Linked DNA regions of Homo sapiens: region 2 is linked to region 1. The links are contacts of gene promoters, found by promoter capture Hi-C in human tissues and cell types (Jung and others, 2019). All regions are on one chromosome and are shown on one strand. Each heading gives the region's core, a stretch centred on a gene start or on the middle of the fragment in contact. The rest is flanking DNA. Distances are from core to core; before and after follow the strand shown.

What was found. The method cuts DNA at HindIII sites, captures the fragments that hold promoters and counts their contacts. A contact is called where the count stands out against the background at its distance.
Region 2: a contact is called between a fragment that was not itself captured here and the fragment with the promoter of UNC5A in region 1, in 2 of the 25 tissues and cell types used here (dorsolateral prefrontal cortex and spleen).

The regions. Positions count from the first base shown.
Region 1 is chr5:176,807,797-176,815,050 of GRCh38, reverse strand. UNC5A (unc-5 netrin receptor A) reads right to left here and starts at 4,492. Exons shown (of 15, transcript NM_133369.3): 1 at 4,231-4,492. The coding sequence starts at 4,300. The HindIII fragment of the contact is 11,668 bases long and covers 227-7,254 here.
Region 2 is chr5:176,728,862-176,736,235 of GRCh38, reverse strand. No RefSeq gene overlaps it. Among named protein-coding and RNA genes, the nearest start is that of LINC01574, 11 kb to the left of the region's middle. RefSeq lists enhancers at 2,017-2,946, 2,947-3,877. The HindIII fragment of the contact is 7,840 bases long and covers 1-6,483 here.

The sequences.
Region 1 (7,254 bases), core at 3,243-5,742:
GCTGGTTTGCTGTCCATACACGTGGCTGGGGCACAGCATCCTCCACCCCAGGATGGGGCCTAGTTTTCCTGGTCCCCACCCTGGACAGGAGGCCGTTTCCAGCTTCCCTGGAGCATGGCAGTCCGTGTTCAGGGACAGGGATGGGATGGTTGCTGAGAGGGGCAGAGCAAACATCTCTCCCTGTCCCCAGCAATAGCAGCCCTCCCTGCCTGCAAAGAGAGCCCAAACTCAAAATGGAGAAATGAAGAAAAACAGCACCTGGCTGGCAGTGACTCAGAGCAAGTTGGGCCAGAGAACAGGGTCACCGCGCCATAAACAATGGCAATACCTGAGGGAGGCACTGGAGGAGAAGGAGGAGGCTCAGGTCAGAGGCTTCTGGCAGCCCCAGGGCTGAGGACTCAATACCTCAGTCTTTCTTTAGCCCACCCAAAGCACATCAGTATGCCAGGACCCCTTTGCAGGGGAGGAGGTGGGAGGCCTTTGGGAGGGGCTGGACTGAAGCTGCGGGTTTCACAGTGCAGGGATTGGCAGCAGCAAAGGGGTGTGTCCCAGGTCTGGACAGAGCCAACGTTGGGGTGTTGGGTGGGGAGCATGCTGGCGGGGTCAGTGGCACCACGCTTTGCAAGGCAAAGGAGCTACAGTCTGGAAGCCGGAGCTTGCCTGGGGGTGCCCACCCCACCAGCAGTCAGAGCCAGGGAGGGCACCCGACCTCCAGATAGACCAGCCCAGAGCTGATGTGGGGCGATGACGAGGGAGGAAGGTATTTTCCTAAGGGCCCAAGGGGGCTCAAGGTTTGGGTTGACCTGCAGGCACTGGGAGTCACCGAAAGCTTTCTAGCAGATTTCCAGCCTGGATGCCAGGGGATGCCTTAGTCTGAGTGGAGGAGGCCCGAGGGGGATGGGTGGTGGTGGCTGCTGCAGGTGAGGGAGAAAGGAGTGGAGGAAGACAAAGAAGTCGAGAGACATGAGCAATGCCACAAGTAGGCCCGAGCTGGAGGACTTGGTGACATATTAGATGTGAAGCGTGAGAGAGAAGGGAGAAGCAAGGGAGACGCTAAGGCTTCCAGCCCCAGGCTGGGAGAATAGGAGGAGGGGACGGCAGGGCCCTTGGGAGGAGGGGGCATTGGGAGAGGGGTGGCCTAGAACAGGAGGCCCCGCATGCATATGCGTGGACACACAGATTCCCAAGTGGCAGCTAGGCCCAGCACTAGAGCAGGGGAGCCCCACCCCAAGCTCAGGGCAGGCTCCTGCCTTGTGAAGCCTCGGAGCTCCAGCCTGCGGGTCTGGGCCCAGAGCAGCACTAGGCAGGAAGAAGGGTCGTGAGGACAGGGGCTCTCTGGCCCTTGGCTGAGGCCAAAGTTGGCTGCTCCTGGGAACGAGGGCCGTGACTTCTGGTGTGGGCTTGGTACCTGGATCAATGCCTATCCCTGGTTCCTGAGAGAAGCCCCCCCTCCCAACACAGGCAAGTGGGGAGCAGGCAGGCAGCAAGAGGACCAGCTCTCCCCTGGGAGGACCTAGGGGCCCCAAAGCCCAGGCCACCCCACCTGCAAGGCAGGGCGAGCAGGAACAGGGTATCTCCTAGCCCTGGAGGATTAAGACCCCCTCAGCCAGCTGCATTCTCCCAAGTGTCGGGGTGGACAGACGAGTCCTAGGTTAGCCCTAAGTATGGGGATGGGGTCTGAGAAGGAGGAGCCAGGCTAGATGGTTGGGGTCAGGTTGGGCAATGCAGCAATGCCAGAGCATGGCACCCCTCAGCCCCATCTTCAAGGGAGCCAGCTCCCAAGTCCCTCCTGCTCAAGACTGCAGAGGTCTGGGTGACAGGGAGACCACAGGGGCAGGGTGGGGGTTTGCATGCCAGCTGCGTGACGGGGTTTGAGAGGGAAAATCCTGTGAGACAGATGGGTGCTTGCGTGCGCGGGCACAGAGAGGGCCTGCAGGTGCGAGCATGCTGAAGGGACAGGCTTTTGTGTGATGTCCAGCAACAGAGGGTGGGCGCGTGGCCTGGGGAGCAAGCGGCTGCAGTCAGTCGCGCTGGCCCCCGGCGCCCCCTGCTGCCCGCTGGCCATCCCTCCCTCAGCGGCTCACAGACACATTTTTCACCGGAGGCTGTTGCAACGGAGGCAAAAGGCAGCGCGGGAGGAGCCCGGGTCACGGCAGGGCCAGCCTGCCTGGGCGTCCACATGTGCCCAGTGCCTGTGGGGCACAGGGGGAAGGGAGTCCCAAAGAAGTAGGGCCAGCCCCTCCCCACCCCATGGCCTTCAGCAGCTCCTCCCGCAGGCCCAGGGGCAGAGTTGATGCCTTGGGGCAGGCTCTGCGTCAGCCCCTGCAGCACCTGTGCCCACCTGCCGACTCCCTGGGCAACCTTGGGCCAGGCCTCAACAGATGCCCTGCCAACCAGGGATGCAGTTTCCCCACCCCCACAGCCTCCTGAGGAGTCCCTGTGGCAACCCCCCGCTCCAGGCCGCAGCACCCTGCTTCACCGGTACCTGTGCCCCCTTATCTGTACACGCTCACCTGTGCAACTGCACACAGCCGTCACACACGTGCGGCATGCTGGTCATCACACACGTTCATCAGGGCACACACATGCCAATGCTGCACACACCATGCCAACCCCCCTGGTTACCCGGGCACACATGTCAACCCACAGCCTTCACACGTGCTCACGTGGGCGACATGCAGCTATGACCACACAGCCCTCAAAAGCATCAACTCAGAAAACATTTCCAGGGTACCTACTGGGTGTCAGGCAACACCCCACCTGTGTGTGGGGCACTAATATCCCCACCTCATCATGGACAACAGTGCAACCTGCACCCGGGTGCTCATCTGCGGAGCTGCACACACGCCCCTAACACACACATGTGGCGGACACGGACACACACCCAACAGCAGTTCAGCCTCTCAGCTTGGTCAGGATTAGAAGGAGAGGCCCTGGGGAAGAAGAGGGGTGCTGATGGAGAAGGGAGATAGAAGGGGTGGGATGGAGTAGAGAGGGGTACTGAGGAGGCAGGATGGGGCGGGCGGTCAGGCAGTGGTGGGTGCAGGATGCGCTGCGCAGAGACACCCTTTAAGGAAACAGCCATCGGCCTCAATCATCAGGCTGGCTCCTGAGCTCCCACTCATTGATCTCTGATCAATCTGGTTTGGCAGCTCAGAAACCCCAGTGCTCCCTTCCAACACCCCTGTTATAAGCAGCGGCCTGGCCAGGCTGGGGAGTAACCGCCCAGGTTCTAGGGGCAGCAAGAATCGAGAATTGCCAGGGTAAGCCTCAAGCCCCCTTGACCACACAAATGGCACCCACCCCCCACCACCACAGACACATACGCTCAACTCAGCTAAGTGCATGGGGGGCAGAGATCAGGAGGCCCCCACAGCTCAGCCTAGGTGAAGGCTCAGGGACAGCAGACAAAGGATGCAGGGGAACTTCCTCCCCCCAAGCCCCTCCCAAGGGAATGAGGTGGGCTGAGGGCTGAGTTAGCAGTGGGTTAGGGTGACCAATGGGGCATGCAGGGGCCAAGAAAGGCTATGGAGTTTAAGGAAGAAGGGGAAACTGGCGGACCAACCACACACAACTCTGGCCCCCCGCACCAGGGAGGCCAGGAGCCACAGCCCCGGCCACCGGGACCGCGGCGCTTTGACTGTGCTGGCTGCAAGGACTGGGGGCTGGTGTATGCGCCTCCACGCCTGAGTGTGTGCGTGTGAGAGCGTGTGTGGCGGGGACAGAGGAGGACACTGTGTTCTGGACGTGGGCAGAGGCCAGGTGCCAAGCTGGGAGATTGTGAGTGGCTGTTTAGGGCAGATGCTACCGGGAAGAGGTATCTTAAACGTTCCCCGCACCCCCCATTTCCTGGGCACTGGGATAGGCTCAAAACCCTCTAATCTTCGAATCCTCAAAGTCAGGCTCCCTGGGGTTGATCCAAACCCCCAGCCCTGCTCCGGGCCCAGGCAACCAGCAAACTTCCCCCACCCGGAGGCGTGGGGTGTCTACACTCGCCAGCCCCGCGGGCTGACAGCTGCTCCTGGACTTGGCAGAACCCAGGCTTCCGGGAGAGCGCGCGGGGAAGCTGCGCAGCAGCAAGAAGAGCCCCCCGCGTCCCGCCTCGCAAAGTTTGGCCTCGGGGGGCTCCCAGCCGGGTCTGGCAGCGCTGGTCAGGGACCCCCAGAGCAGCGAGCGTTCGCGCGCACGGTCCCCCGCAAGCCTCCCCAGAGCGCGCGCGGCGTGACTCACCCGAGCCGCGGAGCCAAGCGGCGAGGACTATGCCCAGGAGCGCTGGCCACAGGCCGGGCCGGACGGCCATGGCCGCGGGCGGGCAGGCGGGCGGGCCGGGCGCGGGGCCCCGCGGGCGGGAGGGCGGCTTTAGCGCCTCAGCCCGGAGCCCCAGCTCGGGGCGCCCCCGGGGCCCATGCCAGCGGACTGCGCTGCCTCCGGGCGGCCGGCTGCCGGGCGCACGCGGCGCGTGGCTCCCTTGGGCACGGGAGCGCAGCAATGCAGCCGGGGCGGAGCGCAGCGCCAGCCGCGCCGCGCACCGAGCCAGCCGCGCCGCGGAGCCCGCAGCCGGAGAGCGGGCCGGTGGGCGCCGCAAAACCCGGACTGGAGCGACGGAGCGGGGCGGCGGCTGGGAGGGGCGGGGGAAGGAAGGAGGGGCCGGGCCGCCCCGCGCAGCGCGCGCGGGCCACCCCCAGCACCGGGAATCCCTCTGGGCGATGCCTGAGGCTCCCCCAGGGAGGGGCTTGGGGTGGTGGGCGTGGAGGCCTCCCACCGCCCCGCGGGGTCTCCAGGGACAGGGGCAGGAGTCTGAAACCCGGAGTGGATCGGTGCTCCGGATCCGGGCTCTCGCGGGCCCGCCAGTCTGCGCACAGGTGGCCCGGGAGGGGCCCGGGGCTGCGGCGACCCCGGCGCGGCGCCAGCCTGCGGAGAGCCGCCCAGGGCAGGGGTGCCCCGGGCAGGTTCCGCTGCAGTCCTCTCCCCCGCCCTTTCCTCGCGGCCGCGCTCCGGGGTCGTCCGGGCGCCGCGGTACGCTGCCAGCCCGCGGCTTGGTTAGGGGACTGCGGGAGAGCCCCGGGGCCCTGGCCCGCGCGCAGAGGTGCCCTGGCCACCAGAGCTGGCAGGCCAGACTCGGGGACACCCGCAGTCCCAGCCTCGCAGGCTGGTGGATTCCAGGGGCGCGCCTCACACCATGACCCAAGGTTTCCCTAACCCCTCGGCGCCGTTCGCCGAAGGAAAACAACCTTCAGGCGCAGCACACCCGACTGGGCGCGCGGTGTTTGAGCCCCGAGAGCGCACGGCGCCCGCGACGTGGGTGTAAAGGAACGAGCTGGGCTTTGGCAGCTAGGGAGACCGGGGGTAGGGTCCAGGCGACTTCACCTTCCAGCTCTGTGACCTTGGTCAAGTCACGTCGTCTCCTGGAGCCTCCAGCAGTGACCGCTGCTGGAGTCTCCTGTGCCCCACCCCCATTCCCTAATCGGGTTAAAATAAACAGAGGGCTGCCTTGAAGGAGAAAGGAAATGACAGCCGCGTGCGGTGTGCCTGGGGGGAGTGATCGGAAAAAGAGAGGGTCCTAGTCTGGGTCGGGAGGGGAATGAGCAGGGTGAGGGCAGGGTCGCAAACTCAAACGCCTACGGGGCCGGTCGATAATATAAATTGGCGCTGCAGGCTAGGCGATGTAAGGGATGGTCTTGCTTCCACAAAGAGATATGAGCTCTCCTATATTTCTTGAGACACGAGGCCCTCTCTCGGTCTGTCTTTTGTTTCCCACTTTTGATAGAGAAGGGTTATGAAAAATGTTTTGCTTTCCTCTTAAGTCTACTATAAAAAACACCAGCTAAAGCTCCAGAGGCAACCATACAGACGCTGGGCTCCATCGCCAGGGAGGCAAAGGGCAGTGCTGGGGACAGGCACAAGGATCCCATCTCAAGGGGCAGCTGCCTTTTCTGCTCCAGGTGCTGGTTGTCGGGGGAGGGGACCGGGGCACAGTATAGCCGCATCTTCCAAATTTTCAACAGAAGCCGTCGTATGTGAAATATTCTGATTTAAAATTTTTAACTAGTAAAAAATAATTTTTTAGACTTCATGTGAGCCCAGGGGAAAGTGTTCACCACCTTCTGGTTTGGGAACTTTGCTTTCGGGGCAGTTTGAATGTACACGGTGTCAGGGCCTGATCAACTCACATGTCTCGTGTGTGTGTGTGTGTGTGTGTGTGTGTGTGTGTGTAGGAGCAGTGTGTGCCCAGGCTGCTCCTGTTGGCACCATAACACCCCTCTTCAGCCTCTGCAGGAAAGAGGTGGGTGGGAGAGGAGAGTCAGTGGCAGGATCTGCCCTTGGGGCCCACTGGGGATTGGGCACTGGAGGCTGGTGGCTGAGGATGAAGGAAGAGGATTGAGGGCTGGGGTATAAGATGACATTATAATAGTGTATGCTCTGTCTAAAGGGATGGCCGGGTGTGGTGGGTCACACCGTAATCCCAGCACTTTGGGAGGCTGAGGTGGGTGGATCGCTTGAGGTCAGGGGTTTGAGACCAGCCTGGCCAACATGGCGAAACACCATCTCTACTAAAAATACACACACACACACACACACACACACACACACACACACACACAGCCAGATGTGGTGGTGGGCACCTGTAATCCCAGATACTCAGGAGGCTGAGCCAGGGAGAATTGCTTTAACCTGGGAGGCGGACGTTGCAGTGAGCCAAGATCATGCCACTGCACTCCAGCCTGGGCGACAAAGCAAGACTCCGTCTCAAAAAAAAAAAAAAAAAAAGTATGCTGGACACCACTATGTCCTTGCATACATTTATAATTTGGCTTGATCCTCACATGCAGTCCTGTTAAAGAAACATTATTATTCCCATTATGCAGATGCAGTAGCTGAGGCGTAGGGAGAGGAAGTGCCTGATTGCTCAGGGCCAACCTTATCCAATAGACTGCAGGGTTAGCTAAGATGCATCCTTGGGAGGTTTGGTTTCAACGTCCGTGTCCTCATCTTTTCTCCTGCTACAGTTTCTACTCTGGGATTTGAATTTGGGAAATGAGGTTTGAGATACAGGAAAGGAAGGGTCTTTTCTGCTCAGTTGGCTGCTTTGTTCACTTCTCTTCTTGCCCCTCTCTCTTCAGCCAGAATGGAATGGTCTATGTAAGAGTCAGGATAGATTAGGGGATGTCGTAACAAATAGTCCCCAAATCTCAGTGACTTAAATCAACAAAGGTTTGTTTCTCATTTGTCCATCATGGGTCTATGACTCCAGGT
Region 2 (7,374 bases), core at 1,314-3,813, 77 kb after region 1:
ACACTGAGGGCCGGAGAGGTCAAGTAGTCTACCCTAGGTCACCCAGGCAGGGAGCAGCAGAGCCAGGACTCAAGCCCAGGGAAGCTGGCTCAGAACCCAAGACCTTGCCAGGTCCGCGCAAGGCCCCCTGCCAAGCCCTGTATTGATGGCCTGCTGCTGAAGCTTATCGCCTCCCACAGCCAGGTCCTGAGCGAGACAGAGCACGGTCTTGACTGTATCCTCTGTCATCACCACCCCATGGGGCGGGCCCATAAGCCCCAGTGAGCCCCACTCCACGGATGAGAACGCTGAGGGTAGGAGAAGAGACGTGACTGACCCAAGGCCACTTAGCAGGTGAACAGCCATGCTGAGATTTGAGCTCTGGTCCATCTGATTTCAATGCCCATGATTTGCCTTTTGGGGTCCAAGAGCTGCTGGGTGGTACGCCTACAAAGAACTTCTTCTTTGTAACTTTTTGTTTTGAAATTATTACAGATTCACAGGAACTTGCAAAAATAGTACAGAGAGGTGCCGTGTACCCTGCACTGGGTTTCTCCCAGTGGTTCTATCTTACATAACTCTAGTACAATACCAGACCAGGAAACCCACATTGGCACAGGGTATGCATACGGCTCTACGTCATTTTGTCACATGTGGAGATCATGAAGCCACCACAGCACTCAAGATCTAGACCTGTTCCATCCCCGTGAAGATGTCACACCCACCTCCACCCTCCACCAGCCCTAGCTCCCAGCAGCCACCAGCCTGCTTGCCATCTCTATAATTCTGCCGTGTGTGGAGTGTTATGCCCAGGAAATCATAGAATATGTTTTGAGACTGGCTGTTCTCACAAAGGTCTTATCCTTATCTTCAGCATGTATTGAGAGCCTACTGTGTATCAGGCACATATTTGTCCCTTTCAGGAATACAGCACATACAACTCCTTGATTGCAAATGACAGAACCCAACTCAGGCTCTGTTATAAAAGGCAATGTATTGGCATCGATTACTGAAAAGTCCAGAAGTGGAGCTGGCTTCAGGCCCAGCTGGATCCAGGGGCTTGTTAGGACTGCTCTTATTCTCCGTGCTTTGGCTCTGCTCTCCTCTCTGCTGGTTTTCCTCACAGGCGGGCTCTCACCACATGGCAGCCACCAGTAGCTCTAGCTCATAGCCTGCTCACTCTCACAGTGAGCAAGGAGCACCCCTTCCTTAGAAAAGTTCCAGCACGCTGGGCGTGGCAGAGTATGCCTGTAATCCCCGCACTTTGGGAGGCTGAGGCAGGAGGATCACTTGAGCCCAGGAGTTTGAGGCTGCAGGGAACTGTGGTTGCACCACTGCACTCCAGCCTGTGCAACAGAGTGAGACCCTGTCTCAAAAAAAATTTAAAAAAGGGGCTGGGTGTGGCGGCTCACGCTCGTAATCCCACCACTTTGGGAGGCCGAGGTGGGAGGATCACGAGGTCGGGAGTTTGAGACCAGCTTGGCCATCACAGTGGCCCATCCCCACTAAAAATACCAAAATTAGCTGGGCGTGGAGGCGGGCGCCTGTAATCCCAGCTACTTGGGAGGCTGAGGCAGGGGAATTATTTGAACCTGGGAGGTGGAGGTTGCAGTGAGTTGGGAACACGCCACTGCACTCCAGCCTGGGCGACAGAGCTGGACTCCGTCTCAAAAAAAAAAAAAAAAGAAAGAAAGAAAGAAAGAAAGAAAGGAAAAGGGAGTGGGGTGGCGGGCAATGGAGGGGAGGGGAGGGGAGGGGAGGGGAGGGGAGCTAAGTTCAGCAAAGGTTCTGGCCCTGACTAGCCCAGCTTGGCACCCACCTGACCCCAAGCCAAGCACTGAAGTGGGGGTGGGGCTGAGTTTGCAGTGCTTGGATTGTCTCATCTTTGGTCACATGTCTTCTCCTGTCAGCCCTTCCCAAATCTCAGGGATTGAGAAGGGGCTTAAGGAAAATTTGGGATGCTGTTGTCAGAGGAAGGGGTGCTATTCCAGGCTGGCCTGAGGGGTAGGTGATGGTATTGTACTACCTCAGTGCAACTGGTTTAATTTTCAAAATATGTGCAGGAAGTCAGGCTGGGAAAGGCTAAGTAACCTACCCAGATTCAGAGCTCTGGGTCCAGCCCTGCAGGGCCTCGGACCCCGGGCTTGTGACTCTTGTTTGCTCCCAGGCTGCCTCCCGCCCCCACACCCTTCTGAAATGCCCACACTCTTCCTACTTCCACGCTCAGATGCAGAATTGAAAGGCTCTGGCATCCAGCAGAGCTGGGTTCATACCCAGCCTTGATACCAGGCATCTCCGTTTCTGCCTCAGCCTGGCTGTGGCCTTTGTCTCTCTGAGTCTCTTTGGTTTCTTTGAGACTCGTCCAGTGGACCACCGGACCCTCCAAGGCCGCGGGGGAGGCCTCCAGTGGGGCTGTCCTTGAGGGGCCCCTCCTGGGATGCAGGCTGGCACCAAGCCGCTCACAGTCACATCCCCACGCGTGTGCCGGCTCTGGCACCCGCTCCACGCGTGGGCTGCCACGTGGCTCCGAAAGAGCCAGGAAGGAGACGGCCACCGTCCAACAGGGAGGACAGGCAGATGGAGAGGGTGACTCAGCACGGGGGCCAGATGTGGCCAGATGAGAAGAGTAAACACGAAGGCCAGACCTGCTGAGGCCCCCTCAGAGCTGGGCAGGGATGGTGGGGGCCGAGCGGTGACAGACGGACGGGAGATGGGGCTGGGGGAGATGGATGGCACCAGCAGGCTCAGCCGAGTGAGGAAAGCCAGACAGATGGTCTCGTTAAAGAAGCCAGCCCGCGTGAGGGAACAGGGCTCCGCGCAGGAGTGGGGGACAAGGCAGGCTCCTCCTTGAGAGGGGCTCCTCCGGCCTGGGCCATTCCACCTGTGCTGGGCCCTGTCCTCATTCTGTCTGGAGTGGCCACCAGGTGTGGGCAGGCCTTTCTCTTGGGTCTGTCTCAGGTGTCTTCACTGCTGGCTTAAAAGCCCAGGCACAGCAGGTGGGACGGGAAGCCCCATCCCAGGACAATCCCCCTCCATCCTTACTGCCGCCAACACGCTTTTCTGAGCTCCTGCCACCCAGACACGCATGGCTATTGAGCTGCATCACCCCCACGTTGCAGTTGCTGTCCCCTCCACTTGGAGCCGTCTCCCTCAGTCCCCAATCACCTCCTCCGAGAGGTCCTCCTTGACCGCCCCATCTGAAGCAGCTCCATCACTCCTGAGCCCAGGGCACCGCTGTGGTTCCTCCCAGCCTCACTGCCTTCTGCACGTGCCCCATTCATTTCCTCATCGGCTTCATCCCCCCGCTAAAACAGGTGATCCTCTGGGATAGGGGCTGGGTCTGTCTCATTCTCAGCTGTGTCCCAGGCCCCGGAACCTGGTAGGTGCTTGATAAATGTGTGTGGGCTGAATCTTCACAGCCCGGGCCTGCCCTGCCCTCCTCTCCCCGTCCCCGCTTGCTCTCCTTAGCGCGCTTCACTGCCTCCCACATCACGTACCCGGCTTCTTCACTCTCCCTCACTAGGATGGGAGCTTCAGGAAAGAAGCAGTTTTTGTCTGTATGTCCAGTGCTTTGTTAGTTCCATGAATGGTCCTGGGGTGGATACCGTCACCTGAGGAAGTGGAGGGGTGCAGGAAGGAGCCTGCCTTGCAGAGGACGAGGAAGGACCAGAGCAAGGCGCCTGTATGTTTCCAGACGGTGAGAGCCAGATCAGGGGACAGAATCGGGCTTGTCCCCAAGTCCTGCTACTCCATGGGCCCCCACTTGGCATTTTCCTCTGGGACCCTGCTTGTCCTGGCTGCCAGCAAAGGCACCTCGGGCCCAGAGCGGACCACCGTAGCCAGGGTGTTAGGCGAAGAGCGGCCCCCAAAGACACGCAAGTCCCAATTCCTGGCAAAGGGGACTTCGCATATGCGATTGAGAAGGGAGGGTTATCCTGGGTTATCTGGGTGGGCCCTAAATGTAATCACAAGTGTCCTTATAATCGGGAGGCAGGGGGAGATTTGACACCAGAAGTGGGAGCTGTGACAACAGAAGCAAGAGGTTGGAGTGATGTAAGGAAGTGGAATTCTGCCGAAGAATGCAGGCAGCTCCGGAAGCTACAGAAGTCCGGGAAATGGATCCTCCCTCCAACCTCCAGCAGGAGCCAACCTGCCAACACCTTGACTTTAGCCCAGTGACAATGATTTTGGACTTCTGGCTTCCAGAGCTGTAAGAGAATAAATTTGTGTTGTTTAAAAAGTCACCAAGATACCGAGTTTCAGCTCTGCAAGATGAAAGGTTCTGGGGATCTGTTGCACAATATGAAGATACTTAGCAGCACACTATACACTTACAAATGGCTGGCAGGGTACATTTCATGTTACATGGGCTTTTTTTAACCACAATATTTAAAAATGGAAAAAAAAAAAAGTCACCACACTTGTGGGAATTTGTGACAGCAGCCACAGGAAACGAATACAGCCAGACTGTAACTGACTGGCCCCGGGGAACCTGGGTCTCAGGCCCATCCTGGCCCCTTCCCTGGATGAGCCTTCTCCGTGCAGGCAGGGATGCCCCAGGAGACTAGGAACCACCTGACTGGCCACACACCTCCCTCGCTCCTGTCAACATCCTGAGAAGTGGTTTCTATGATGATCCCCAACCTCCCAACAAGGAAATGGGCTCAGAGAGGTGAGGTGACATGCCCAAGGTGACACACCAAATAGCAGAGCTGGAATTTGAACCATGAGTTCCTAACCCCGTTTCCTGCATCCTGAAGTCGGATTCAGCCCTCGTCTCATAGCTGCTGGCCCACAGGCGTTCAAATGCCCAAATACTGCTTTTCAGCAGCTTCTAAAAGAGCCACAGAATTGCCTTCTTTTTCTCTGTTTGTAACCAGGCAATCTCTTCCAGTTAATCATAGAGCAGAGAGTCTCATTCTGTCCCGGTACGCCCACAAGTAGATCTGAGATTGCATGGGAAAGTACAGAAAAATGAGTTAGCTCACGTTCTATGTACGGTCCTCTGAGGCCCTACAGCTGAGCCTGCGATGGTGGGTAGGCTGCAAACCAGTGGCCCGTGGGCCACGCCTCTCCTGCAGAGGGATTCTGCTTGGTCTGCGCTATATTGGTTGTATTTTTATCCTGTCTCCAACATTTAACACCAGAAGATTTCTTTTCAAAATCACAAGTCAGGACAACATTTACCTCTATTTCTGTGTAGGTCAGGACAGGCTGAGCTATGCTGCAGTAACAAGCACCTCCAAGTCACAGGAGCTTACCACGCAGGTCTTTATTTCTTATGAGCACCACATATTCAGTGCAGGTAGCCAGGGCACTCTGCTCCACACAGTCACTTAGGGAACCAGGCTGATGGAGGCACCACCATTTTTAAGTGGCATCTGAGACACATGACCTTGTCAGTTGCTGCTTCTGGGAAAGAAGAAACAGAAGAAGAGCACAGGGACATTGCACGGCTTCAGCATGTGACATCGCCTGACTTCTGCTCACTTGTCATTGACTGAAACTAGTCATGTGGCCCATCCACACCCCAAGGGCTGAGAAGTACAGTCTTCTGTGACCACTAGTTTTACCAGTTTCAATACTGGTGGGCACTAGTCTATAGCATCTTCCCACTTGGCAGCAATTCACTGGGGCCGAATGAGCCTTGCCCACCTCTGGGCATGCTGCTATGGACAGATGTTCAGAGTGTGCACTGCACAGCTCCAGGAGCCACCATTCAGGTTGTATTTTCTGGGGTTGGTGTTCCCGGCAGCTGTGCAGTGCTCAGCTATAGCAGCCCTTTCCTGAATGCAGGGCATTCAAAGAGTTTACAAATGGACCCCAGCTTCATTTTTCAGTCGTATCCCCCCTGTCCCCCACCCCCATCCCTGGCTGCCATGTGCCCCTCTGCTCTTGTCAGTAATTCCTAATTCCCAAGGTGGTCTAGATGGCCCTCTGAGCTCTCCACATCCTCCATGAAACAAATCAGTTTGGGAAATGGGGCACGCTATACCCCATTAAAGGCTCTGGTGAGTCCTGCAGTGACAAAATCAATCTAACTTTGTTTAATCCAGTGTTTGCCAACTTTTTGCCCTTTTCTCTTTCTTTCTTTCTTTAGACAGAGTCTCGCTCTGTCGCCCGGGTTGGAGTGCAGTGGCGCAATCTCGGCTCACTGCAACCTCTGCCTCTCTGGTTCAAGGGATCCTCCTGCCTCAGCCTCCCGAGTAGCTGGGATTACAGGTGCACCACCACCATGCCCAGCTAATTTTTGTATTTTTAGTAGAGACGAGGTTTTGCCATGTCAGCCAGGCTGGTCCCTAACTCCTGGCCTCAAGTGATCTGCCTGCCTTGGCCTCCCAAAGTGCTGGGATTACAGGTGTGAGCCACTGTGCCCAGCCCCTTTTGCCCTTTTCTTAAACAGAACTTGTGATGTCCCAGGAGGAGGAAAGCCCATTCACCCAGCACACTCTGCCCATGTGTTTGTGTCTGCACCATTCTCCTTTCCTTACTCTTCCTTCCTCAAGTGAGCTTAACAGCTCCCACACATCCTGTAAATGCCCTTTCTGAAGATTCTCCTCATGGCCTGTGTCACAATGAAGAGTTGGTTTTGTGTTGGGATTCCCCTGCACCGGAACTTCTGTTGGGCATTGCTCTGAGCCCCCGGGGACATAGACCGAGCTGCCTCCTCTCTGTGGGGGGACATTCTTGCCCCCTGGCACTGAGCATGTCTGTGCTGTCTTCCTCCTTCCCTGGGGTGGGCAGAACCTCTGGACTCAGCCACCCACCATCATGCTCCTGCTGGGAGCTTCTTGAGAAAGGAGACTCTCCAGTAAAACCATGTTTTGGGTCTCATATGTTAAAAATGCCAGAAATTCCCCATAGGGTTACAGAAACTGCGGGATAACTTAAATGTTTACATTCAACCATTCATTCACTCATTCATTCAGCACGTGTTTCCAGAGCTCCTACTTAGGGGCCAGGCACTGGGGAGACATCAGGGAACAAAACAGACATGGGGTCTGTTTTATAGCCAGTTGCATTGGAGGCGAAGTAGAGAAGCACTAAGCAGCTGTTCAAGGCGCCAGGTGGGGGTGTGTGCTGAGCAGGCAAAGCTGGGCCAAGGGGCTGGGGTGCGGGAGGCCGGGGAAGGAGCGGCTTCCCTCTTCTGTGGGGTGGCTCCAAGAGGCCTCTCTGATTGATAGGATGATGTGAGCAGAGATTCAAGAAAGAGGAGAGCGGCACACAGCTGTCTGCGGGGAGAACCTTCCAGGTTGGGTAAGCCGCAGAGGCAGAGGCCCTCAGTGGGAGTGGCTGGAAAGGAGGCTGGGTGGCCAGAGCCCGGGGACAGGGAAGGAGATGCTGAGACAGGCCTTCAGCCCACAGGGCCCAAGGGAGGCAGAAGGTGGGGCTGGG